5 separate regions of the Homo sapiens genome follow, and all the other regions are linked to region 3. Evidence: promoter capture Hi-C in human tissues and cell types (Jung and others, 2019). All regions are on one chromosome and are shown on one strand. Each heading gives the region's core, a stretch centred on a gene start or on the middle of the fragment in contact. The rest is flanking DNA. Distances are from core to core; before and after follow the strand shown.

Evidence for each region. Contacts are between HindIII fragments. The study calls those that stand out against the background at their distance.
Region 1: the fragment with the promoter of HCN2 here is called in contact with the fragment with the promoter of PTBP1 in region 3 in 2 of the 25 tissues and cell types used here (dorsolateral prefrontal cortex and lymphoblastoid cells).
Region 2: the fragment with the promoter of ABCA7 here is called in contact with the fragment with the promoter of PTBP1 in region 3 in 1 of the 25 tissues and cell types used here (dorsolateral prefrontal cortex).
Region 4: the fragment with the promoter of WDR18 here is called in contact with the fragment with the promoter of PTBP1 in region 3 in 3 of the 25 tissues and cell types used here (dorsolateral prefrontal cortex, lymphoblastoid cells and spleen).
Region 5: a fragment that was not itself captured here is called in contact with the fragment with the promoter of PTBP1 in region 3 in 1 of the 25 tissues and cell types used here (dorsolateral prefrontal cortex).

Annotation. Positions count from the first base shown.
Region 1 is chr19:588,631-594,131 of GRCh38, forward strand. It overlaps HCN2 (hyperpolarization activated cyclic nucleotide gated potassium and sodium channel 2), which reads left to right and starts at 1,251. Exons shown (of 8, transcript NM_001194.4): 1 at 1,251-1,947. The coding sequence starts at 1,316. It also overlaps the pseudogene LOC100420586. RefSeq lists an enhancer at 1-20. The HindIII fragment of the contact is 14,322 bases long and covers 1-5,501 here.
Region 2 is chr19:1,037,223-1,041,356 of GRCh38, forward strand. ABCA7 (ATP binding cassette subfamily A member 7) reads left to right here and starts at 2,885. Exons shown (of 47, transcript NM_019112.4): 1 at 2,885-2,974; 2 at 4,003-4,134. CNN2 (calponin 2) reads left to right here. Exons shown (of 7, transcript NM_004368.4): 7 at 403-1,843. The coding sequence ends at 678. RefSeq lists enhancers at 891-1,450, 1,038-1,539, 1,540-2,039, 3,932-4,134 and a silencer at 3,881-4,020. The HindIII fragment of the contact is 21,554 bases long and covers 1-4,134 here.
Region 3 is chr19:794,041-798,949 of GRCh38, forward strand. It overlaps PTBP1 (polypyrimidine tract binding protein 1), which reads left to right and starts at 3,412. Exons shown (of 15, transcript NM_002819.5): 1 at 3,412-3,465. The coding sequence starts at 3,458. RefSeq lists enhancers at 2,531-3,166, 2,819-3,158, 3,365-4,250, 4,251-4,909 and silencers at 3,071-3,425, 3,189-3,538, 3,549-3,728, 3,799-4,108. The HindIII fragment of the contact is 37,831 bases long and covers 1-4,909 here.
Region 4 is chr19:980,849-985,882 of GRCh38, forward strand. It overlaps WDR18 (WD repeat domain 18), which reads left to right and starts at 3,497. Exons shown (of 10, transcript NM_024100.4): 1 at 3,497-3,715; 2 at 5,017-5,034. The coding sequence starts at 3,506. RefSeq lists silencers at 1,763-2,152, 3,317-3,406 and enhancers at 3,091-4,032, 3,457-3,606, 3,637-3,816. The HindIII fragment of the contact is 34,067 bases long and covers 1-5,034 here.
Region 5 is chr19:621,332-626,777 of GRCh38, forward strand. It overlaps POLRMT (RNA polymerase mitochondrial), which reads right to left. Exons shown (of 21, transcript NM_005035.4): 4 at 3,793-3,923; 5 at 3,388-3,574; 6 at 2,123-2,272; 7 at 1,490-1,654; 8 at 1,251-1,421; 9 at 818-1,042; 10 at 1-515. Among named protein-coding and RNA genes, the nearest start is that of POLRMT, 9.5 kb to the right of the region's middle. The HindIII fragment of the contact is 3,049 bases long and covers 1,929-4,977 here.

The DNA.
Region 1 (5,501 bases), core at 1-2,500, 210 kb before region 3:
CCATCCACTGTCAGCCGGGCACATGCTGGCCCTCCCTCAAGTACCACTGAGTGCCTCCTGGGTGTAGGAAGAGGGCCATCTCTGCCCCGGTGGCCTCGAGGTGCAGATGGGTGGGGGGCACCCGGCACACGGGACATCGTGGCTGAGAGGACGTCAGGCCAGGTGCCAGGAGGGTCCCAGGAGGGCCTCCTGCCTCCAGGTGGGGATGTTCAGCCTCCACTTCTTCGAGTGTGACTGTCTGTCTCCTCTCTCTCACTTGCCAGCTTCCTCACCTGCCCCCTCCCGGCTGTCTGGTGGGCTGGGTGGCTAGGGACAGAGGCCTCATGTCACCTGGCACCAAGCAGCACCCACGCCCAGCCGGCTTCGGCCCAGAAGCAGAGCCTTGGGAAGCACCTGTCTCAGAGCTGGGGACTGGAGGCACTGGGGGCACAGCTGCACCCGGAGTCCGAGGGGTCGGGGAAAGGAGGCAACCCCGGGGCAGGGGGCTCTGGTACCCGTGCGAAGGCGCTAGTGGGCTTTGGGTCTCCCTGTGACCCCAATCTAAAGCCCACCAGACCTAGAGGAGACCCCCGCCGCACGGCTCCCCAGGGCACTGTTTGAGGGGTGGGTGGGAACCCCACACCCTCGGGTGGCTTTTCCAGTTTTCCTTGTCTGGCTGGGCTTGGCCTCAGTTTCCTCAAATGCAGACCAGGGAGAGGAGTGCCTGAGTCTCCCAGAACGGCGCCCAAGCCGGCCTGCCCCTCCCCACGCACTCAAGGGTCTCTGTCCAGGGCCCACAGGCGACCCAGCAAGGGCTCCTGTGACCTTTAGAAACACCCTTTCGTCGTGGAAGTCTTCAAACCTCACAGAAAGCAAGGAGGCGCTGGCCGTGGCGGCCTCTCCCGTCTCCCAGGCCCGCGTCCACCCTCCCCGCGCCGGTGCCCTCCGGACAGAGGTGGAAGCCGCGGCGCAGGAGAGGCGGCTCCGGCCGGGCAGCGGGGCCCGGTGACCTTGGGCGCGTCCTTACACGTCGCGGGCCTCAGTTTCCCCTCCTGGGGAGAGGCCCGCGCGGGGCTCCGAGGCCTCGGGCCGCGTGACCTTGGGGCGCCCCCGACCCCGCGGCCCGAGTTTCCCGGCGCCGAGCGGAGGCGGCGCGCGGGGAGGGGGCGCAGCCGAGGCGGGTCTCCCGCCCCCGCCCCTCCCCCGCCCCTCCCCCGCCGCGAGGCTCCGCCCCCCGCGGCTCCGCCCCGCCCCGCCCCCGCCTCCCCCCTCCCTCGGGCTCCGGCCGGCGGCGGCGGCGGCGGCTCCGCTCCGCACTGCCCGGCGCCGCCTCGCCATGGACGCGCGCGGGGGCGGCGGGCGGCCCGGGGAGAGCCCGGGCGCGACCCCCGCGCCGGGGCCGCCGCCGCCGCCGCCGCCCGCGCCCCCCCAACAGCAGCCGCCGCCGCCGCCGCCGCCCGCGCCCCCCCCGGGCCCCGGGCCCGCGCCCCCCCAGCACCCGCCCCGGGCCGAGGCGTTGCCCCCGGAGGCGGCGGATGAGGGCGGCCCGCGGGGCCGGCTCCGCAGCCGCGACAGCTCGTGCGGCCGCCCCGGCACCCCGGGCGCGGCGAGCACGGCCAAGGGCAGCCCGAACGGCGAGTGCGGGCGCGGCGAGCCGCAGTGCAGCCCCGCGGGGCCCGAGGGCCCGGCGCGGGGGCCCAAGGTGTCGTTCTCGTGCCGCGGGGCGGCCTCGGGGCCCGCGCCGGGGCCGGGGCCGGCGGAGGAGGCGGGCAGCGAGGAGGCGGGCCCGGCGGGGGAGCCGCGCGGCAGCCAGGCCAGCTTCATGCAGCGCCAGTTCGGCGCGCTCCTGCAGCCGGGCGTCAACAAGTTCTCGCTGCGGATGTTCGGCAGCCAGAAGGCCGTGGAGCGCGAGCAGGAGCGCGTCAAGTCGGCGGGGGCCTGGATCATCCACCCGTACAGCGACTTCAGGTACCGCCTCCGGGAGGGCCGGTCGGCGCGAGGGGGCCCGGGGAGCCGGGCGCGCGGGGAGCCGTCCTTGGAGCGCCTGGGGAGGGCGGGGCGGCGCGCCGGGCCGGTGACCTCGGGGCTCCTCGGTGACCTCGGGCGTGTCCGGGACCCGCCCCGGAGTGACCCCGGCGCGCGAGGCTCCGCCTCTGGGGGGGCTCCCCGGGTGACCGCGGAGCGCCCCCCTCCCACGCACCCCGACATCCTCCGCCCTGCGGCGCGGCGGGTGGGGTGGGCCGCAGGGCCAGGGTCTGAGCGCAGAGGGGCAGAGAGGACGAATAGAGGGGAACGTGGGCCCCAGAGAGGCGGCGGAGCGGGAGGGAGGAGGAACGAAGGGCGCCCGGGAAGGACGCGCCCCAGGGAGGCCGGGGGAGAGGGGGTTAAGCGGCTCCCACGGCGTCCACCCGCGCCCCGCCTGCGAGGAGGCGCGCCCGGGGCCGCGGGCCTGGAAAGCGTGCGGGTCCCCAGGCTGTGTCCCCGGGAGCCGCTCCACCCGAGCCGCGGGCGGTGCGCGCATGCGGCGGTGGGTGTGTAGACGCCGCTGTGGATCCAGCCGGCTAATGCGTGGAAGGCTCGGAGCAGGGCCGGCGCGGGGCCACCGCCACTGATGTTTGCGGTCGTGGTTCCTGGGCTGTGCGTGCTGTGGCCGGAGAGCGAGACCGGCGCGTGTCCCCGTGGGCTGTGTGTGAACAGGGGCCCGTGACCGCGGCGGGGTTCCCGGGGCGCGAGCCTGTGGCCGGAGAGGTGTGTCTCCAGGAGTGTGTTTGCGTGGTGGTCGCGGGCGTGTGCGCCTCCGGTGGGTTTATTTTGGTGGGACGTGTGGTTTGTGTGTGTTGGGACCAGGTGGCGGGCGTGCGCGTGTACGCCCGGGGCCGGTGTGCACCGGTGGGCAGTAGTGTGAGCCGCAGGCAGGTCTCACACACGCGACCATGGAGGGATGCGTGTGTGTTTGTGTATCCACGAGTGGGGTGTGAGGTGGGGTGTGGAGGGTGCAGGTGGAGGGTGTAGGTGGGGCCCGCCGGGCTAGCGAGGCCGGGCGCGCGGGACGGGCGCGGTTTCAGCACCACGGACAGCGCGCCGGACCTGGGAAGCCTGCGGTTTTCCCGCCTGTCTCTCCTCCTCCAGGCCTGGGCGCCCCAGGACAGCCCCCACGGACCCTGGACCCCCGGAACTGGGCAGGGAGGCTGTGGGGTTCTCTCTTCCCCTGGATTCTCTGCACCCCTAGTGCTTGACTGGAGAAACTGAGGCCTGGGGCACATGCGTCCTGGACAGAGCCTGGAGGAAGGCCCTGGAATCCTCCTCCCACCCCAGGCCTTCCTGAGAGGTGAATACAGCTTTGACCAGAAGCCTGGATTTCGAGACAGGCCAGGGGTGGGAGGAGCCCCGAAATCCCCAGAGGGGCTGTGTCCGGCCCCTCCCACCCTGCCTCTGTGCCCCACCGGGAGAGCTTGGTCAGCATCTGGGCTCTGGCCTGCGAAATGTGGACAGTGAGCGGGAAGGACTGGACTTCCAGGGCTGCTGGTCGGCCTGGCCCCACTTCCAGTCGGGCAGTGGCACCCCCTGACCGGAGAGGGACGCGGTGGAGAGGGAGCTGTAGAACGTGCCCACTCCCCTCCGTCCCCTCCAGCATGACCTTCGACAGAGATGGGTGCACCGCAGCGTGGGGGCTGGCAGGTGGAGGCCCACACCAGCCACTCCCTCCCCTGGGCAGCTCCAGCGACCCCCTGGCTGCAGAGGGGCGGTCGGTGGCCTGGGGGGCAGGTGGGCAGATGGCTGATCCCGGGGCTTGGGGGGAAGGCCGGTGGTAGGAGTGAAGCCCTCTCATCCTTCCACCCTCCTTGGGCGTGGTCGCCTGGAGGCCTGGGCAGGCTGTGGCCCCGCTCTGTGCTCTGAGGCATAGAGGGCTCAGAGGCCCCTGTGTGGACCAAGTGCAGCCCCACCCCGGCAGATGAGTGTTGAAGTGGAACTGAGCAGGCAGGGAATGGGGTTAGCGGGGCCTGTCTTCGGGACTAGGGGAGTCACGGCAGTCAGATTTTAAAAAAGGATTTCGATGTTGCCAAGCTGGGTGCACGGGGCCCCTAGGACCCTCCCCAGGCTTGGGACCTGTGCCAGTGTGGAATCAGTGTGGAAAAAGACCCCCAAGAATATCTCAAAAGCTCCCTAAGCAGGCGGCCGGACCCTGCTGTGGAGGGTGTTTTGGGGCAGCCCACAGCAAGCGAAGGGGCCTCTACGTTTGCAGCTGACTCAGGAGCCTGGCCCCAACTGGCTTCGGGCCCAAGGCCTCCTGTGCCTGGCTGGGTGTCTTGGGTCCTCGCTGGGCCCCTCTGCCTCAGTTTCCCCAATTGCACGGTGGGGATGGTATGAGGGAGAAGGATGGGGTCTTTCACAGCCTTGCCAGTGTCTCAGCCTCACGTCTCACACTCTCTTCACCTCCCCTTCCTGCTGAGAGAGTGCTGTGCTCCTTGCCCAGCCTGTGCCCCCCAGGCACGCCCTCACCCCGGTTCTTCCTCGCTGCCCAGCTGTCTCCGCCACGCCCAAGTCCACCCTGCTCCCGTGCTCGGAAGTGGCCTCTTTCACGCCCCACGTCCCAGTCCCAGTATACAGCAGGTGCCACATATTTGCTGAATTTTCTGAGGGGCAGAGCATGGGTCCTGGGCTGACGTGGGTCCAGATTTCGGCTCTCAGGCCTGGGCGGCTGGCCCCTTTGGAAGTGCAGTTGGTGCCAGGGTGCAGCGGCTCACGCCTGAGATCCCAGCACTTTGGGAGGCTGAGGCGGGCGGATCACCTGAGGTCAGGAGTTCGAGAGCAGCCTGGCCAACATGGTGAGATGATCCCGTCTCTACTAAAAATGCAAAAATTAGCTGGGCATCGTGACGAGCGCCTGTAATCCCAGCTACTCGGGAGGCTGAGGCAGGAGAATCACTTGAATCCAGGAGGCAGAGGTTGCAGTGAGCCGAGATCGCGCTGCTGCACTCCAGCCTGGCTGACAGAGTGGGACTTGGTCTCAAAAAAAAAGAAAAGGAAGAAGAAGTGCAGTTGGTCTATTGCTGAAGTCTCTGGGGCTGTGGGTGGCTCTACACCCCGGCCTGACGTCTGAAAGTCCCCAGAGGCATGCTGGGCGCTTCCCTGGGGTGCTGGTGGAAGAGCAAGTTCAAGGACCCAAGTTCAAGGTTTTGGGTTCCAGAGGCTCAAGTTCCCTTCCTTGTAGGTGATCACGGTTGGTGCCTGAATTGGAACAGGCGTGAAAACCAAGAAGGAAGGGGTTTGGCCTTATGCAACCCCCAGGGCTTCGGCAGGGTCTTCTGTGCCTCCCAGAGCAAAATTAGGTCAAAAATAAGTATAGTTCATTCCTACTCCCTTCACCCCAGCCGCCGCTGATTCTAAAGGCCACACAGGTCCACTTGGGAAAGCCTGAGTCGTGCAAAGGAGGGTGTCTCCGCAGGAGAGGGGCAGGGGCTGGAGGTCTCTGCACGAGAAGGGCTGGGGCTGGAGGGTGTCTCCGCAGGAGAGGGGCTGGG
Region 2 (4,134 bases), core at 1,635-4,134, 240 kb after region 3:
GAACTCCTGACCTCAGGTGATCCTCCCACCTCAGCCTCCCGAGTAGCTGAGACTACAGGCGCCCGCCACCACGCCCGGCTAATTTTTGTATTTTTAGTAGATATGGGGTTTCACCGTGTTGGCCAGGCTGGTCTTGAACTTCTGACCTCAGGTGATCCTCCCACCTCAGCCTCCCGAGTAGCTGGGATTACAGGCATGTGCCACCACGCCCAGCTAATTTTGTATTTTTGGGAGAGACAGGGTTTCACCGTGTTGGCCAGGCTGGACTGGAACTCCTGACCTCAGGTGATCCTCCCACCTTGGCCTCCCAAAGTGCTGGGATTACAGGCGTGAGCCAGTGCACCCAGTGAAGGTCCCCTCTTCTCTCCACCATGACCTGCTCCACCCCTCCTTCCTCTCCAGGTGGGCATGACGGCTCCCGGGACCCGGCGGCACATCTATGATACCAAGCTGGGAACCGACAAGTGTGACAACTCCTCCATGTCCCTGCAGATGGGCTACACGCAGGGCGCCAACCAGAGCGGCCAGGTCTTCGGCCTGGGCCGGCAGATATATGACCCCAAGTACTGCCCGCAAGGCACAGTGGCCGATGGGGCTCCCTCGGGCACCGGCGACTGCCCGGACCCGGGGGAGGTCCCTGAATATCCCCCTTACTACCAGGAGGAGGCCGGCTACTGAGGCTCCCAGCACGCTCTCTCCCCACATCGTCTGCCCATCTGGGTTTTTGGGTTTTTCTGTGTTTTCATCTTTTTTTTTTTTTTCTTAACCCGTTCAGTGCTGCCAGTCAACCAAGGGTCTGTGAGTGTCAGCGTGGGATCAGGCAGCAGAGCTTTTTTCCCCTTTGCCTTGATCCTTCGCAAGGCTGAGCCACTGGGCTGTGGGGGAAGGGGTCAAGGCCATATCCCAATACGTGTAGGGCGAGGGTCCCTGCTGGCACATTCAGGCTGTGCTGGGAAGAAGAGACCTGGGCTTGGAAGGAACCGGTCCCCGACGGTTTCTGCTTGCCTCGCCTCTTCCCCCTTTTGTCAGCTGAGCAGTTTGTGGTTTCTATGCCCGCAAGTTTCAGGAAGTATTCACAAAAGAAAAATACATTTTTTCCCCCAGGGGTGGGGCAAGGACAGTGGAGAGAGTGCTAGGAAATGAGTCCCCTGGGAAAGGGGACCGGGCCGTGATGTTAAATATCTCCGGCTCCCAAGTGACTGGATTTGCCTAGGACCTTCAGACCAACAGACTTCAGACCCTCAGACCTGCCCCGGGGCCAGGTGGAGAAAGTGAGGGCCGTACAAGGAAGTGAAATTCTGAGTTGTTGGGGCTAAGCCTGACCCCCTCTCCATGCTCCCCGCCCCAACCCACTCTGGCCTCAGTAGATTTTTTTTTCAGTTGTGGTTGTTGCCCAGGCTGGAGTGCAGTGGCGCCATCTTGGCTCACTGCACCTCCACCTTCCGGGCTCAAGCGATTCTCCAGCCTCAGCCTCCTGAGTAGCTAGGACTGCAGGTGCTCCACCACGCCCGGCTAATTTTTGTATTTTTAGTAGAGATGGGGTTTCCCCATGTTGGCCAGGCTGGTCTCGAACTCCTGGCCTCAGGTGTGATCCGCCCGCCTCCGCCTCCCCAAGCGCTGAGATTACAGGTGTGAGCCACCGTGCCCAGCCCCTCAGTAGGTTTTAAGGAGCCCCCAGCCCTCCTCCCTTCTGGGCCCGACCAGCTTATACTGCTCCATCTTCCCCGGCCACATGCCCCGCCAAGTACTGCACAGGGACCCCCCACCCAGGGGACCTGCTCCGTGAGATAATGTGAAATACGACTGTGGACCAAACGCAATAAAACCTCTGTTTGTACGAAGAGAAGGTGGCCAAGAGAGTTGGCGTCGATGAGGGCGTGCTTTGCTTTGATGCTTTTGTGGGGAGAGAGGAGGTCTTGGGGGATGGGGGGATCAAGGGGAAAATGTCCACCTCACCATTGGGAGGAGGAGCAAAAGCTGAAGCCACAGGTGAGTCTGGGTGGAATGAATGATTTGAAGGGCCGGGACTTGGGGTAGAGGGAGAGGCTGGGCTTCCTGGCCATTTGGAGAAGAGGCAGTTCCCTCAAATGCCCCCCATGCGCTTTGGCTGCACTCTACCTTACAGCGCAAGTCTCGTGGCCTCAGCCTGGATGTCTCCCCGTTGGCGAACTCCTATTTATCCTCAAAGCCCCAACGGCAATGCCACCTCCTGCCGCGGGAGCCGTCCCCACGCCTCTCACTCTCCCCAGCGCCTTCAAAGCTGTGGACCCACACGCTCCCATTTCAGCTTCACCTCCAGCCTGAAGAGTTTATTTCAACTCTTCTTCCAGAGTGGGAAACGGGTTTTCCTCAAAATCAGGGTAGCCACTATAATCGGAGACTCTAGAATGTTGGCCCCCTCCCCCTCCTGCCATCCTCTGCAGAAGCCGAGGAGCGTTCGTGGAATGAATGAATGAACGAATGATCTAGTGGAACCCCTACTTTACAGACGGACGAGTGTAGTCCCAGAGTCTGGACTAAACTAGAGGGAGCCTGGCCAGCCCCGGGGACAGCGGGGACAGAGGGAACTCCTGCAATTCGGAGCTGCGGTATTGCAGCCGGTTATACAACGTGGGGAGGCAGCCTGGCTCCCCAAAGACAGCGCAGCCTCGTTCCCGGAGGGCGGCCTGCCTGGGACCTGCCGGGCACTCCGCCACCCTACGGTGATGCAGCAAGAGCCGCGCGGTCCCTTTAAGAAACCCGGCTAGGCGAGGCCCTTCTGTGATCCCGTCTCCTCCCTTGGCCCGCGCAGCTCCGACGGAGCAGGCCAGTGAGTGACGGGCAGGTCGCCCAATAGCAGCGTGCAGAGGCAGGGGCGTGCCCCGGCGCTGCTACCTGCGCGGGCAAGCTCAGCGCACTTGGCTTAAGGGGCGGCGCGCTCCCTGCCTGCTGCTGGGCGGAGGGAAGGCGGCAAGAGCTGCGGAGCCCCTGGAAGGTGAGAAGGACTCGGAGAGGGAAGAAGGCCCGAGACTCGAGAATGCGGGGTTGGGGCCGGGAGGGATGCAAGTTCCCTGGGAATTAGGGGGTCCAGCCTCTGACCTCCTTCCGGTGAATGTTGACGACGGCTGAATTGATCACTGATTCTCAAGGGGGGCATCGGACATCTGGGACCCTTAAGAGGGCCTTTGCCGATCACACACCTGCAGCCCCCTGCCCGTTAGAACTCCTGCACTCCCCCTTGCCCCGTCTTACAAATGGAGAAACTGAGCCCACTCCCCCAGATCCTAAGTCCCGCTTGATGTAAAGGAAAGAACCCTGGCGTAAGGGTCTGGGTCTGAGGTCCCAGTTCCGGCCTGGTCACCTTTAGCAACTTCCTGCCCCTCTGTCAGCGTCAGATTCTCCATCTGTGTCAGAGGTGGACCGGCCCAAGGAAAATAGATCAGGAATCGCTGACTCCAGGAGTCTCTATCCCAGCCCCTTCGCCTGACTCTTTCTCTGGCTCCCGCGGTCCCTCTGAGCGATTAATGCTACATAAGGTGTGGGCAGAGCTGGGGTCGTGCCTCCAGCTGGGCAACTGCCTGTCTCTCTGGGTGCCTGGGTTTGCTTTCTTGGGCCTCGGTTTCCACTTCTGTAGAGTGGGGTGATAGTCCAGCACTTCCCCTGGGCGTGTGAAATGTCCAGCACTGCCAATATTCGTTGCTGTTATCTTCGGAGAACAGTGAGGGGAAAGGAATCCTTGCCTGGGCTGGGCCAGGCAGGAGGCTGGGGGTCAGGACCTGGAAGAGGCTTCCAGGTGAGGCTTGGGGTGGAGCCTGGTGACGAAAGCGTTAAGCCCAAACTCGGTCCCTGGAGGATTAGAGGATGATCTTTAAGTCCCCAGCTGTCAGCCCTGCTCAGAGCGACAGTCCTGGCAGCCAATCAGATGCGAGGACGGCTGCGGGTTGCGCTCCCATTGGTTTACTCCACCCCTGGGGTAGCGGAGCCTCTTTATCGAGTGACTACTGTTTGCCTCGCTCTAATCAGAGCTTCCAGGAACCCTGCGCTGTGGGATAAAGGAATGAGGTTCAGAAAGGGGCAGGGAGTTGCCCGCAGCCGCACCGCACGTCTTCAGCCCGACCGTTGTCCTGACCTCTCTGTCCCGTCCCCTGCCCAGTC
Region 3 (4,909 bases), core at 2,162-4,661:
GCCCAGGAAGGACACTGGTTTCAGGTGACCTGGGTGAGGTGGAGGCGGTGGGGGGGGTTCCTGGGACCAGGCCGCCATTGCAAAAACAAACGGCCTGCTTGTACCTGCTATCGCCCTCTAAGCTTCAGGTGGTGGGTGGGGCTGAGGGGCTGAGAGGTGGCCCCAAAGAAAGACAACCACATCCTAAACCCTGGAACCCGTGAACAAGGCTTCATTTGGAACACCAGTCTTTGAAGGTACCATTAAGTGTCTTGAGATGAGATCATCCTGGAGTCTGCAGGTAGACCCTAAATTCCGCGACATACATTTTATTTTTTATTTTTACTTTTTTTTTTGAGATAGCGTGTCACTCTGTTGCCCAGGCTGGAGTACAGTGGCGTAATCTAGGCTCACTGCAACCTCCGCCTCCCGCGTTCAAGTGATTCTCCCGCCTCAGTCTCCCGAGTAGCTGGGATTACAGGAGCAAACCACCACGCCCGGCAAATTTTTGTATTTTTAGTGGAAACGGGCTTTCACCATGTTGGCCAGGATAGTCTCAGGCTCTTCACCTTGTGATCCGCCTGCCTCGGCCTTCCAAAGTGCTGGGATGACAGGTGTTTATTTTCGTTTTTGTTTTTTAGAGACAGAGTTTCACTCCTGTTGCCCAGGCTGGAGTGCAATGGCGCAATCTCGGCTCACTGCAACCTCCGCCTCCCGGGTTCAAGTGATTCTCTTGCCTCAGCCTCCCAAGGAGCTGGGATTATAGGGCATGCACCACCACGCCTGGCTAATTTTTGTATTTTTGGTGGAGAGGAGGTTTCTCCATGTTGGCCAGGCTGGTCTCGAACTCTGACCTCAGGTGATCCACTCACCTCGGCCTGCCAGAGTGCTGGGATTACAGGTGTGAGCCATTGCACCCGGCCAGACACTGTCTTAAAAAAATAAAAATAAAAAAAGGTACTGGACAGGTGGCTGGTCATGTGGGGCTTGCGGGGTAAGGGATGGCCTTGGGTTTATACTTTGAGCAAGACAGGAGGCCTGGCGGGGCCACGATCAGAAGTGGGTTTTAACACGATTCCGAAGGGTTAGACTGGTGCTTGGAACCTGGTGGTCTCTACTGCTGCCAGCTGCCACTCAGACCCCCGGCCGCCCCTGCCTGTCTGCTTTCAGGGCGGGGCCCATCCCAGGCACTCCGCGAACAGACAGAAGCGGCTGGTTCTGGTGGTGTGAGGATGGGGGTCTCCAGGGGAGCAAATCCACAGTAACACACTGGGCTTCTCCCAGATCCACCGGACATTCCTGATGAGTGACCCTGGCTGCAGATGGCTCTTGGTGAGTCTCCGTTGACCGGGTGGTTCGGGCCAAAGGACCTTGCCGTGCGATGCCTCCATGGAGCTCGGCGGCCACCCCTAATCCGGGCTGGAATCCTCTGGCACCAGACGCCCGGCGGGGCTCCAAGGCTCCTGGGCCCACGCCAGGCCCCGGCCTGAAACGCAGCACTGCTGGAATAAAACACGCCAGAGAAGCAGGGCGCTAGGCTCGCCTGGATTTGGGGAAACGAGAATTGTCATGTCTTCTCCCTCCGTAGGTTGGTGTTAATGAAAAACCCCCTTTTCAGCATGGACTAAATCCCGCTAATTCTATTTAGGGAGCAGTGTCTACTCCGGGCCGGGAACTGCTCCGGTTTCCAACCGCAGCCTCCCGTGAGGGTCCCAGTGTGGAGGGCCGGGGTCATCCCCTCACTCTGGGATGGCTCCCAACCCGCTGACCTGGCCTCCCCGTCAGGCACCCTCACAGCTCTGTCAGACTCTTCATGTGATCAGCGCTCCTGGGAACATTAGTTTAGGGTGTTTTCTGCTGCTGGGATGGTGGCCCGGGAGGGACCCTCCTGGTGACCCTGCTGGGCCTGGCCCTCAGTTTCCCCAGCCGTAGGCTGGCAGCCTCGAACTGTACGAGCTCCAGGCCACAGTTTCCCCAGCTGTAGGTCAGTGGGCCAGGGACTGTAGGGGGCTCGGGCCTCAGTTTCCCCAGCTGTAGGCGGGTGGCTTGGGCCTCAGTTTCCCCACCTGTAGGCGGGCGGCCTTGGATTGTATGGAGCCCGGGCCTCAGTTTCTCCAGCTGTAGGCGGATGGCCGTGGACTGTGTGTGGCCTGGGCCTCAGTTTCCCCCGCTGTAGGCAGATGGCCGTGGACTGTGTGTGGCTTTGGCCTCAGTTTCCCCAGCTGTAGGCGGATGGCCGTGGACTGTGTGTGGCCCGGACCTCAGCTTCCCCAGCTTTAGGCGGTTGGCCGCGGACTGTGCAAAGTCCAGGCCTCAGTTTCCCCAGCTGTAAGCGGGCGGCCGCCCACTGTACAAGGTCCAGGCCTCAGTTTCCCCAGCTGTAGGTGAGAGGCCGCGGACTGTACAAGGTCCAGGCCTCAGTTTCCCCAGCTGTAGGCGGGCGGCCAAGGACTGCAAGGTCCAGGCCTCAGTTTCCCCACCTGTAGGCGGGCGGCCGCGGACTGTACAAGGTCCAGGCCTCAGTTTCCCCAGCTGTAGGTGAGAGGCCGCGGACTGTACAAGGTCCAGGCCTCAGTTTCCCCAGCTGTAGGCGGGCGGCCGCCTACTGTATAAGGTCCAGGCCTCAGTTTCCCCAGCTGTAGGCGGGCGGCCGCGGACTGTACAAGGTCCAGGCCTCAGTTTTCCCAGCTGTAGGCAGCCGGCCGCGGACTGTGCGGGGCCCGGACCTCAGTTTCCCTATCTCCGCAGTCGGGATTCGCTGTTCCGGGGCGAACAAAGAACGGTCGGGGGTGACCCCGGATCATGGCGCGCCCGCAGTATCTGTGGCCACTGTGGAAACAGCCCTGGCGTGTCCGGGACGCGACGCGGCCTTTCCCTCCCCGCGCGATCACCCAGATGTGAGCGCTCAGTTTGAATCGGACTTTTTGGCCATGTGCCCACAACCAACATGGAGCCCTGAGGGTTTCCTGCCCGACTCCAAGATGGCGATGCGACTCCCTTTGCCCTCACGGCCCAGGCGGGCGGGTCCTGCCCACTTGCAAGATGGCGGCAGCCTGGGCAAAGCACGCTTCCCGCCGCCTGACTCGCCACGTACCCACTCTCAAGATGGCGTCTCCCGCAAAGCCACGCGCCAGCTGACTGGCTCAGACGCCGTCACGTGATCCCATTTTCTCCCCCTCCCCCGACTACACAAGCCGTTTCCGCCTTCGGCCTTGAGGAATAACCGCCTCCCCCAATAGGCGCCTGCGATTTCTCTGGGTCCCGCCCCCGGGCGGCCTTCTGGCCAGTGGGAGGTGCTGGCGGGGGCCCGCGGGGCTCTCCCCGCCCCCTGGCTGCAGCGGGAGCCAATGGGCAGCGCGCGCGGGGGACGTGTGCGGGCGTCTCCGCCATTTTGTGAGTCTATAACTCGGAGCCGTTGGGTCGGTTCCTGCTATTCCGGCGCCTCCACTCCGTCCCCCGCGGGTCTGCTCTGTGTGCCATGGACGGGTGAGTCGCACGTCGCCCCGCGCCCCACCGCCCTCCCCGCGCCGCAGCCCTGCCCCCGCCGCCGCGCCGGCCTCCCCGGGGCCGATCTCGCCCCCTCTCGGGCGGGAGGGGGCGGCGGGCTCTCCCCTTCCTCTCCGCGTGGCGGGCGCGGGTGCGGGGCGGGTCAGGGGCTTCCCGGGGGTCTGGCCGCGTCCCCATCCCCCGTCCGGCCCGCTTCCGGCCCCCGCGCGCCCCGTCCCTAGCGCACGCGGCCTCCCGCGCCCCTCCCCCTCCGCGCGCGTCCCCGCACTTCGCCTTTGCCCCGCCTCGGCGGCGCGCGGCCCTTCCCGCTTCCCGTCCGGCCCTCGCGCGCCCGGATGGCCCTTCCCGCCTCCCGTCCGCTCCCCTCGTGCGCCTGCGTAGCCCGTCGCGCGTCCCCGTTGGCCCCAGCGCGCGTGCGCGGCCGCCATCGGGGGCGCGCGCCTTTCCCGCCGCCCGGACTCTGCCCCCGGCGCAGCCCCGGAAGCGCAGGCGGGGCTGGGGCGGCCGCCGGGAGGGAAAGCTGGCGCCGGGGCCTCGCCGCGGGCCCGAGTCTCTGCGCTCCCCGCCCTACCCCTGCCCCCCGTGCGCCCCGGGCCGCGGCCAAGGGGTTTCGGTGATCTCGGGAGAGAAGCGGCCGCCCCGAGGGTCTGTCCTCCGCCCCGGGGCCGGAGGGGCCTCTCCAGGGACCCCCGCGGGCGCCGTCATGGGGAGGGGCCTTCCCGGCTCTCGGGCCGGGGCAGCCTTTCCGGGCGGCTTTGCTGGGCGGGCTTCCCTTGGGAGAGGTGGGAGCCCCCTCCAGAAAGGCCGTGTCCCGCCGAGCGCTTCCTGCGCGAGGCCCTCCCTGGGAATAGGAAGCGGGAGAGGCTGGAGATGTTTCGCATTCTTTCCGTTTTCCTGAGAAGTTTTTCTTGGGTTCAGTCACTTTTAAAAGTCTGTTAAACGTGGTCCGTGCAGTCTGTGGTGTCAGAAGAGGCGCAGCCCTAGAGTGGGTCTGGACCCCTTAGCATGCGTGCGGGCAGGTGGGTCCTGCAGACGGCGAGACGAGGGCTCCCCGCTCTCGGACCCAGCACCGCGGGCTCGGGGGCCGCGCACTCGCCTCCCGGAGTGAGGCAGGAGGCCCGGAGGCTGCCCTTCCGACGGACGCTCCGAGTCACTTAGGGCCTCGCCGGGAGTTGCAGTGGCCGGGAGAAGCCGTGGGGAGCTCACTGTTGGGTCAGGACCTGGCCGGGGCTGAAGGGAGGGCCTCGGACAGTCCGGCTTTCTATCCACCTTCCCCCCGGGGTGTCCCGAGGAGGGAGAGTCGGGTCGGGCGGGGCTCGGGTTGATCAGTAACTGAGGCTGTGTTCTGGTCGGTCTGTTAATTTTTATTGACGGTTTCCACGGCCGCCTCCTGCTCTCCTCGGTGGATCGGGCTCCACTCTGC
Region 4 (5,034 bases), core at 2,247-4,746, 190 kb after region 3:
CCGGTCTGCTGGGTGTCCTGGAACCCGGGAATTTAAAAACTTCCAGGCTGGGCCAGGCGGTGGCTCATGCCTGTAATCCCAGCACCCTGGGAGGTCGAGGAAGGAGGATGGTTTCAACCCAGGAGTTCAAGACCAGCCTGGGCAACACGGCGAGAGCCCCTATCTATGAAAAATTAAAACGCTAGTCAGGTGTGGTGGTGTGCACCTGTGGTCCCGGGAGGCTAAGGTGGGAGGATCGCTTGAGCCCTGGAGGTTGAGGCTGCAGTGAGCTATGACGGTACCACTGCACTCCAGCCTGGGCGACAGGGCCAGACTCTGTTAAGAAAAACTAAAAATGAACCAGGCGCAGTGGCTCACGCCTGTAATCCCAGCACTTTGGGAGGCTGAGGCGGGCAAATCACGAGGTCAGGAGTTTGAGACCAGCCTGGCCAACATGGTGAAACCCCGTCTCTACTAAAAATACAAAATAAATTAGCCGGGCATGGTGGCACATGCCTGTAGTCCCAGCTACTCCGGAGGGTGAGGCAGGAGAATCGCTGGAAACCAGAAGGCGGAGGTTGCAGTGAGCTGATTGTGCCATTGCACTCCAGCCTGGGCAACAAGAGCAAGACTCAATTTCAAAAGAAAAAAAGAAAAAGAAAAATGAAAAAAAAGGCCAGGTGCGGTGCCTCACGCCTGTAATCCCAGCACTTTGGGAGGCTGAGGCAGGTGGATCACCTGAGGTCAGGTGTTCGAGACCAGCCTGGCCAACATGGTGAAACCCCGTCTCTACTAAAACTACAAAAATTAGCCGGGCGTGGTGGTGAACACCTGCAATGCCAGCTATTCAGGAGGCTGAGGCAGGAAAACCACTTGAAGCCAGGAGGCGGAGGTCGAAGTGAGCTGAGATCACGCCACTGCACTCCAGCCTGGGCAACAGAGTGAGATCCACCTCTCCTGCTTGTCTACAAAAAACAAAAATAAATAAAGTAAAAATTAAAACAAGGCCAGGCACAGTGGCTCATGTCTGTAATCCCAACCCTTCGGGAGGCCAAGGTGGGAGCATCATTTGAGCCCGGGAGTTTAAGACCAGCTGGGCAATAAAGCAAGACCCTGTCGCTGCAAAAAAAGAAAAAAAAAAAGCACAAAATTAGTTGAGTGTGGTTCCTATGGTTCCAGCTACTCGGGAAGCTGAGGTGGGAGGATGGCTTGAGCCCAGGAATTGGAGACTACAGTGAGCCATGATTGCACGATTCTCCTGCCTCAGCCTCCCGAGTAGCTGGGATTACAGGCATGCACCACTGTGCCCAGCTAATTTTTGTATTTTTAGTAGAGACGGGTTTCACCTTGTTATCCAGGATGATCTTGATCTCGTGATCCACCCACCTCGGTCTCCCAAAGTGCTGGGATTACAGGCCGGAGCCACCACGCCCCGCCGATTTTTTTAAATAATGTTTTTTAAATAATGTTGGAGGCCGGCCTCAGTAGCTGACGCCTGTAATCCCAGCACTTTGAGAGGCCGAGACGGGCAGATCACCTGAGGTCAGGAGTTCGAGACCAGCCTGGCCAACGTGGTGAAACTCCGTCTCTACTAAAAATACAAAACTTAGCTGGGCGTGGCGGCTCACACCTGTAATCCCAGCTACTCGGGAGGCTGAGACAGGAGAATCGCTTGAACCCGGGAGGCAGAGGTAGCAGTGAGCCGAGATCGCACCATTGCACTCCAACCTGGGCCACAGAGCAAGACTGTCGCAAAATAAAGAAAGAAAATAAAAATGAGGTTGGAGGAAACTCTGGAGGCACAGCAGGTCCTTGGATTGGACTCCCTCCCTCCCTCCCAGGATAAAATGAAATCCAGGCCTCGTTCACACGGCCCTGCACGGCCCGGCCCCGCTCCGTGGTCCTGCCCCAGGGCCTTCGCACGGGCCTGCCCCGCACACGGTTCTCTGGGGGTCGCTGGCTCCCCGCTCAAACGGCCCCTCCTGCCGACCAGGCGGGTCCCCGGGGCCGCCCTCCCTCTGGCCTGGGCTCGGGGTCGGTGGCTCGCGCCTGCCACCTGGCGGCCAGCGGGGCTGCGGCGCCGCACGCTCTGGCACCAGCCTCCTGCCCCGGCCGTGCCCTCCGCCGGGAGCCGCGGACCAGGAGTCGCACCGCCTCCGGGGACCGCACCCCGCATGCAGCCTCCAGCCCCTGCCTCTTGCTGCTCGAGGGCACACGACCCAGGTCAGCTGCAACCCCCGGGCGGAAATCCCGACTTTTAAATGAATGCTCCCTTTTTATCCCTTTTTAAGGGGTTGGCAACTAATTGCACATTTTAAATCATACTGTTTTTAGGCCGGACGTTGTGGCTGAAGCCTGTAATCCCAGCGGTTTAAGAGGCCAAGGCCTAAGCCCAGGTGTTGGAGACCAGCCTGAGCAACACAGTGAGACCCCCCATCTCTACTAGATATATATTTAGTATAAATAAATAATAGATATATGTTTTTCTTTGAGACAGAGTCTCATTCGCCCAGGCTGGAGTGCCTGGGATCTCGGCTCACTGAGACCTCCGCCTCCCGGGTTCAAGCGATTCTCCTGCCTCAGCCTCCCACCACGCCCGGCTTTTTGTACTTTTTGTAAAGACGGGGTTTCGCCATGTTGGCCAGGGTAGTCTCGAACTCCTGATCTCAGGTAATCCACCCACCTCGGCCTCCCAAAGTGCTGGGATTACAGGCCTGAGCCAAAGCGCCCGGCCTTTTTTTTTTTTTGAATGCCGTTTTCAGACATGGTCCGTGACGGGCAGCCGTGACATGAAGTTAGACCCTGCTTGGCTCGGACAGAACTGGCGACTTGTTTGACCTACACCAAGCTATCCGACTAATAATTTAGATGTTGAGGCCCCTAAAGAGGGGTCAAGGGGGAGGCAGATGTCGACCAATAAGGAAACACTGGGCCGGGCGCGGTGGCTCACGCCTGTAATCCCAGCACTTTGGCAGGCCGAGCTGGGAGGATCACTTGAGCTCAGGAGTTCGAGGCCAGCCTGGGCAGGACAGTGAGACCCTGGCTCTACAAAACTAAATAAATAAGGAAGCAGTGAATTCCAATGTATTCATCGCCAACTAGCCATGTTGCTGGGTGTGCGCTCTCTCTTTTAGGCGCAATGTGTCATTTAGGCCTGTGACGTCGGAACTTTATTATTTGAACATTTAAAAATAAATGAATCCAAGAGCTTGAGTCACTTGGCCAAAAATGCCCAGGAGGAAAAGGCCAAGTCAGGTACCCCGGCTCTAGAGCTACTAACTGATCGCCGGAGACCCTGGGCCTTGGAAGAAGTCGCCTCCCCAGATCTCTAAGCAGGCCGCGCGACCCTCGAGTCTCAGGTAAGCGGGAAATCCCACTTCACAAGAAAGCCCCTCTCTCCGAGGCACGGGCGCATGCGCGGGTCGGCCACCCGCTGGGGCCGCGGGGCCGCCGCTCTGGCCCGCGTGGGGCAGTCGTCCGCGTCTCGCTCATGATGACGCACGTCCGGGGCGGTGGGGAAGGCAAGATGGCGGCGCCCATGGAGGTGGCCGTGTGTACGGACTCGGCGGCCCCGATGTGGAGCTGCATCGTGTGGGAACTTCACTCGGGCGCCAACCTGCTCACCTACCGCGGCGGCCAGGCGGGACCCCGCGGCCTGGCGCTGCTCAATGGCGAGTATCTGCTGGCGGCGCAGCTGGGCAAGAATTACATCAGCGCCTGGGAGCTCCAGCGGAAGGTGCGGCGGTGCGGTCTCGCTGCTGGGGTCATGGGGCGCCCGAGGCTGAAGTCGGGGGATGGGTTGGTGGGGGCCGCGTGCACCCTTAGTCGGAATTGGCGTGGGGAGGGGAGGTGGTCTCCGTTCGGGCGCTCTGCGCATGCGCGGGTCTGGGGGCTTTGGGGAGATACGTGCGACCTGTTAGGCCGCTCTGCGCACGCGCGGGGCTCAGGCCTGAGCTGCTATGGGGGCAGTGGGGGAAAATGGGAGACGCTCCGGGGGGTCCCTTGGGGCAATTGCGCATGCACGAGTTCTTGGAGCGCGAAATTTGATTAAAAGGGGCCTATGAGCTCTGTGGATGTTGTGGTTCTGGAGGAAAAGGGAGAAGGACCAAGGTCTGGGGGAGTCTCCCATGAAGGGGTGGCGCAGGAAACTCATGTTTATTCCTCCAATAAAGCAACAGATACTCACCGTCGCCCACAGTTTCCCCTCTACTCCCAAGCCCAAATGCAGCCAGTCCCTGAAGCTACTCGCTTCCCCCGTGTGCCCGCTGAGATCTCTTGGGACTGGCTCTGTGCTCCAGCATTGCCTGATGGAGTCTACACACAACTCATAAATTTCTCCCATTTTATTTTAGTTTTGAGACAGGGTCTCACTCTGTCGCTGAGGCTGGAGTGCAGTGGTGCGATCTCGGCTCACTGCAGCCTCTGCCTCTAGGGTTCAAGCGATTCTCGGGCCTCAGCCTCCTGAGTAGCTGCAACTACAGGCCCGCACCAACCACCACACCCGGCCCACATTTGTATTTTTTGTAGAGGCAGGGTTTCACCATGTTGGCCAGGCTGGTCTCGAACTCCTGACCTCAAGTGATCTGCCCACCTCAGCCTCCCAAAGTGCTGGGATTACAGCCGTGAGCCACCACGCCCGGCTGAGTTTTCCCATTTTAGAGAGGAGGAAGCTGAGGCTTGGGGTCTTAGGTTGGACATTATGGATAGAAGGATTGGGGCACAAGCCTACTGGGCTCTTGGGCCCCAGTGTCCTTCTGGATCCTCTTTGTTCTGTTCCTGTACTCCTCCCACCCAGGGCCCCTCTGACCCTCAGAGGAAGCACCAACCTCACATCTACCACCTCCAGCCTCGAAGCCTCTTGCAGGGGCGAACACTTCCTTGCTGGACCATGCATTTGCTCAAACCACCCTGCTCCCGACTCCTCTTCCTGGTTCTCTGACTTAGCCATTGCCCAGGCGTCCCCTCCCCTCGCCCTCCACTGCTGTAGTAGCTCCCGTGTCCTGCATGGGGCTCACGAGGCTGACTGTGCATCCTTAGGACCAGCTCCAGCAGAAG
Region 5 (5,446 bases), core at 2,203-4,702, 170 kb before region 3:
AGGTGCTGCGCCAGCGAGAGGCGGTACAGCGCCTCCGCCCGCAGGCTGTGCATCTCCCGGGCCACCTTCTGGCAGTGCGCCAGCTCACGGCGCAGCTCGGCCTTGCGGGCGGGCGCGGCGCTGTGCGGCAGGTGGGCCTCGGGCGGCTGGGGCGCCTCGGAGGGCGGGGCCGGCACGCCTAGCTGGGGGCAGCCCTTGGCCTGGAAGAGCTGCAGCACCAGGTCCAGCACGCGCCCGTTGACGCGCCAGGCGCAGTTGCCCAGTTGGGTGAGGGCGTCCAGTGCGCCATGCAGCGCGGTGGGCGGGCAGGTTTCCAGCAGCTCCTGGTGCTGCGTGGCGCCTTCCACCGTGCGCATCAGCTTGGTGGGGCTGAGCAGGAAAGCACCAGAGTGCGGCGATGTCCAGGGCAGCGGGGGGCAAAGCATGGGTACATCCACCGCCTCGAAGGTCAGCGTGGGCTCCGCGGCCTTCTCCAGCAGCTGCACGTAGGCCGGGTGCGGCTTCAGGATGCCGATCTGGGGTGCGACAGGCAGACGGGTCAGGGCCCCGGTGCTGGGGCTTTCCTGTTCCCACCCCTTAAACTTGGGTGAGAGGGGCCGGCTCCCCGGCCAACAAGAAACCAGTGTGGCCTCCCACGAACAGAAGCCACCTCCAGAAACGGCCGGACACCTGCATGGACACCCATGGTGTGTCCCGAGTCCTGGGAGGTACTGACGGCTGCGCTGAGATCAAGGCTCCGCCCAAAGGCGCCAACCCCATGGGGTCCCTGGTCCTCCCAGCGGGATGCCCCCCAGCTCAGGAGGGCACTGCCTGGCACCTGCTGGACGTTGCGGAAGGAATACACGTGGTAGAGCACGGGGACAAGCCGAGAGGAACGATGCGGCTTGTCCAGGCTGCATGGCATCTGCGTAGCCTGCACCAGCATCTCCGCCAGCAGCTTGCCCAGCTCCATCTGCACTGGCAGGGGCCAGGGCTGCTCCCGCAGGGCCTCGGGCGCCCCCAGCTCCTCCCAGTACTGCCGCGGCAGGCAGGGCTCGGGCACCTGTAGGACAGGGCGGTCAGGGCGCTGGGCACCGGGGCCCCTGAGCTAGATGCCCCACCGCCCGTGCCTGACGCCCGGTGGGGCATCTGTCAGCCCAAGCATACAGATGAACAGACTGAAGCTTGGGTGCAAACCCGGCTGCTCCAGGGAGGGAGAGCGCCCACCCACCACTGGCCCCAGCCAGGAGGAGAGGGGGTGCGAGCCTCACCTCGGCGTCGGAGGCCAGCAAGCAGAGGTACTTCCTGTAGTGGTTCTGCAGCGCCTGCACCTGGCCACTGACCCGCTGCCTCTGCACCACGTGCCGGCTGAAAGTGCGCGCACTCAGCTCCCGGGCCAGGGTGGTGAAGGACTCACCTTGGGCGGGCAGCGCCTGCAGGACCTGCGGAAGGCAGCCGTGAGTGCCTGCCCGCCCCGCCCGGGGACCCGGCCGCGCGGAGGAAGACGCACCTGCAGGAGCATCCGCACCACCTCGCGCTCGTCCAGCAGGCACAGGAAGGGGTAAAGTGAGAACCGGCCCTCGTACACCTCGCGCTCTAGGCGGTTCTTGGTCTCCCGCAGCGCCCGGCACAGTGCTTTCTCCCATTGGTCCCGCAGGGTCTTCAGGGTCTTCCGCTGCGGGGGATGAACGGGCCCGGTGAGCCCCGTGGCAGCTGGTGGGACCCAGGCTCACAGGACGGGGGTCACCGCAGCTCCCTGCAGAGACCTCATGGCCCTCAAGGTCCCTGCTGTGTGTTCCGGGTAGCTCCTCACCCCGGCCTGCCCTCTGCCGGCTTCAGCGTGCCTGACGCAGCCAAGAGCAAAAGCCCAGCTGCAGTGTGCGCAGAAGCACAGGCCAAGACCCAACCTCGGGACCCCACAAGTTTTCCCTGAGCGGCAGCCAGGCTGAGTTCCTAGGCCCTGCATGACCAGACCAGGGCATGAGCAATTCAACCGCATACACGGAGCTCAGCCCCTGCGGCGGACACGCGACCCCGGCTCAGCCCCTGCGGCGGACACGGGACCCCGGCTCAGCCCGTGCGGTGGACACGCGACCCCGGCTCAGCCCCTGCGGCGGACACGGGACCCCGGCTCAGCCCCTACCGCGTGCTTGACCTCCTTGCTTGGCAACGTGGGCTTCTCCACGGACACCACGCACACCCTGCTGGCCAGCTCCATGTGGAGCTGCTTCTCAAAGAGGCACTGCAGGGTCTTCAAGGGCAGGTGCAGCTTCGGGTAGGACACACGCCCATCCTGCAGGGATGGGGGTAGTGAGGTTGGGGGCTTGCCAGAGGGCGACCTGCCCTCCCAGGACCCCGAGACAGCATGGGTGCACGCGTTTCTGCGTCTCCTGCAAGTTGCTGGTGGCTATCGCTGACGCGGGGAAAGGCGGGCTGCGGGTAAAGTCAGTGCCAGCAGTGCAAACCAAAGGCCTTGACCCTCCTGGCCTCGACCCCTCTAGAAGGGACACTGGGCACCGTGCAGGGGGTGGCAGGGGCGGTGATGCTGGGAGCTGGCAGAGCCTGGGGAGACCGTTCACTGCACCCCCAGATGTTGGCTGTTTTCTCCTCAAACTCAGAACTGTATGAATGTGACCCATCCAGAAATAGATGAATTAAAAATAACAACTAAAGCCTAGCGCTTTGAGAATCAAAGACGCACGTCCACATAAAAGCTTGTACACAAACGTTCACAGCTGCATGACTCGCAGTCGATAAGTAGAAACAGCCCAACGTCCCATAAACGGACGAACAGACGGGCACGGCGCGGCCATCCACGCACCGGAGCATGACTCAGCCCTGACCCAGGTCGCCTCCCGGAGGCACCATGAGGACGTCACGCTCAGTGGGAGATGCCAAACACAAAAGGTCTCGCAGTGTGTGGTCCCATTTCTATGGAATGTCCAGAGCAGACTCATCCACAGATGGGGAGGGGATGGGGAGTGACGGGGATGGGGACGAGGCTTCCTTTTAGGGTGATGGAACATTCTAGAATTAGACAACCGTGACTACACTAAAATCGCTGAATTACACCTTTAAGAGGGTTTTATGGCAGGTGAATTACACCTCAGTAACAGACGAGCCCACTGCGTGCACCTGGCAGCCCCACTCAAACGCACTGCTCTCCTGTCACCCCACCCTCTCTCTGCGGCCCCCGACCACCTCGTCCCCCTGAGCCCACACCCTCAGGGCCAAGACCCTCCCAGCTCTGGGTCCTCCCATCTTCTCAGAGGAGGAAGGGAGGAATTCAGGGCCCAGCCCAGGTGAGCCCTGGGCACCGGGGAGGCCCATTGGTCTGAGCTGAGGCTCCAGGAACCCCCAAAGGGCAGCTATAAGGACTGAAGTCTGCCGGGGCCCACGTGGGCTCACCTTGGCATACACGTCCCTGAGCAGCTTGGAGGTGTTGACCGGGGGCGGCAGCTGCGGCGGGAGGCTGAAGGTGGGCTTCACCTTGTGCACGGCCTTCAGAACAGTGGCCCGATCCTCCTCAGACAGCAGAACGGCGGTGAAGAGTGCCTGCAGCTTCAGCCCCTCCTGGCTCATCTGTTCCAGACACCTGTGGTGCAGGCGGCCTGCTCGAGGGACGGGCCAGCCCCACGCTGGGCTTCCACAGACCCCAGGGGAACCTCGTGACCACCTCCTGCTAGCCTGCAGGTCTCGGTGTGGCTGTCAGGCCCTCTGGGGGTCCCCAGCCCCCAGCCCAGGCACCGTCCCAGATCTTAAAACCCTGGGAGGGACATGGTGGGGGGTGGGGGCCCTCCCGACACCACCTACCTTTCGATGGTCCCGGCGTCCTGGTCCTGCCTCCCCATGCACTGGAGGGCAGCCGCATAGGACAGCAGGTCCGGAGTCAAGCCGGCATCCTTCACCATGAATAACACATATACCAGCTCCTTGAAGGCACCCTGGGAGACCAAGCCAGGGTGAGGGTCTGGGGGGATGGCCCAACCTCCACATCCTCCCTGCTCCCTGGAGACCCCTTCTCTGTAGCCACCAGCTCAGCAGGGGACAGGGTCACCAGGCAGGAGTGGCCAGCTGGGCAGACCGATGCATCCCCCTGAGGTTCTGACACACAAGCTCCACCTGCAGAGGCAGCCGCATGGCCCGCCAGGTGGGACTGTGGGAGGTTCACGTTCCTCTGGGAGGCAGCTTGTTAAACCTCCAGATTTGTCAATTGTGTGGATCTTTTCAAAGGACTGACTTGGCTTGACTGTTCTCTGCTGTTTCTGCCTTCCATTTCATCGATTTGTTTTAATCTTTGTAACTTCCTCTCATCTACTTGCTTTAGGTTTAGTGACAGCTTCTTCTTCTAGTTTCCTAAGGTGAAAGGTGACGTATTTGGTCTGAGATGTTTCACTTTTTTTCCCCCCAAGATGGAGTCTTGCTCTGTTGCCCAGGCTGGAGTGCAGTGGCACAATCTCAGCTGGGCCGGGTTCTCTGCCTCCCAGGTTCCAGCACTTCTCCTGCCTCAGCCTCCTGAGTAGCTGGGATTACAGGCACACGCCACCACACCAGCTAATTTTTTGTATTCTTAGCAGATACGGGGTTTCACCATGCTGGCCAGGCTGGTCTCGAACTCCTGACATCGTGATCCGCCAGCCTCAGCCTCCCAAAGTGCTGGGATGACAGGTGTGCACCACCGCGCCCGGCCATCACCTTTCCGAATATAGGCATTTTGTGACTATAAATTACCCTGCGAGCACTGTGTCAGCTGCATCCCAGGACTTCTGACAGGTGGTGTTTTCATTTTCATTATCTCCAAGTGTTTTCGAACTTCATAGTTTACTTCTTCTTTGGAAATTTTATTTAATTATTTTTTTAGATAGAGTCTCGCTCTGTCGCCCAGGCTGGAGTGCAGTGGCGCAATCTCAGCTCACTGTCAACCTCCGCCTCCCGGGTTCAACCGATTCTCCTGCCTCAGCCTCCTGAGTAGCTGGGACTACAGGCACATGCCACCACACCCAGCTAATTATTTTGTATTTTTAGTAGAGATGGGGTTTCGCCCTGTTGGCCAGGCTGGTCTCCAACTCCTGACCTCAGGGGATCCACCCGCCTCGGCCTCCCAAAGTGCTGGGATTACAGGTGTGAGCCACCACGCCCAGCCATGTATAGCTTAAATATCCCCTGCAATTTTTTTTTTTTTCATTTAATTTTTGGCCAGGCACAGTGGCTCATGCCTGTAACCCCAGCACTTTGGGAGGCCAAGACAGGAGGATCACAAGGTCAGGAGTTTAAGACCAGCCTGGCCAACATAGTGAAACCCCATCTCCACTAAAAATACAAAAAAAAAAAAAAAAAATTAGCTGGGCGTGGTGGCTCATGCCTGTGCTCCCTCCACTAAAAATACAAAAAAAAAAAAAAATTAGCTGGGCGTGGTGGCACATGCCTGTAATCTCAGCTACTGGGAGCCTGGGGCAGGAGAATCACT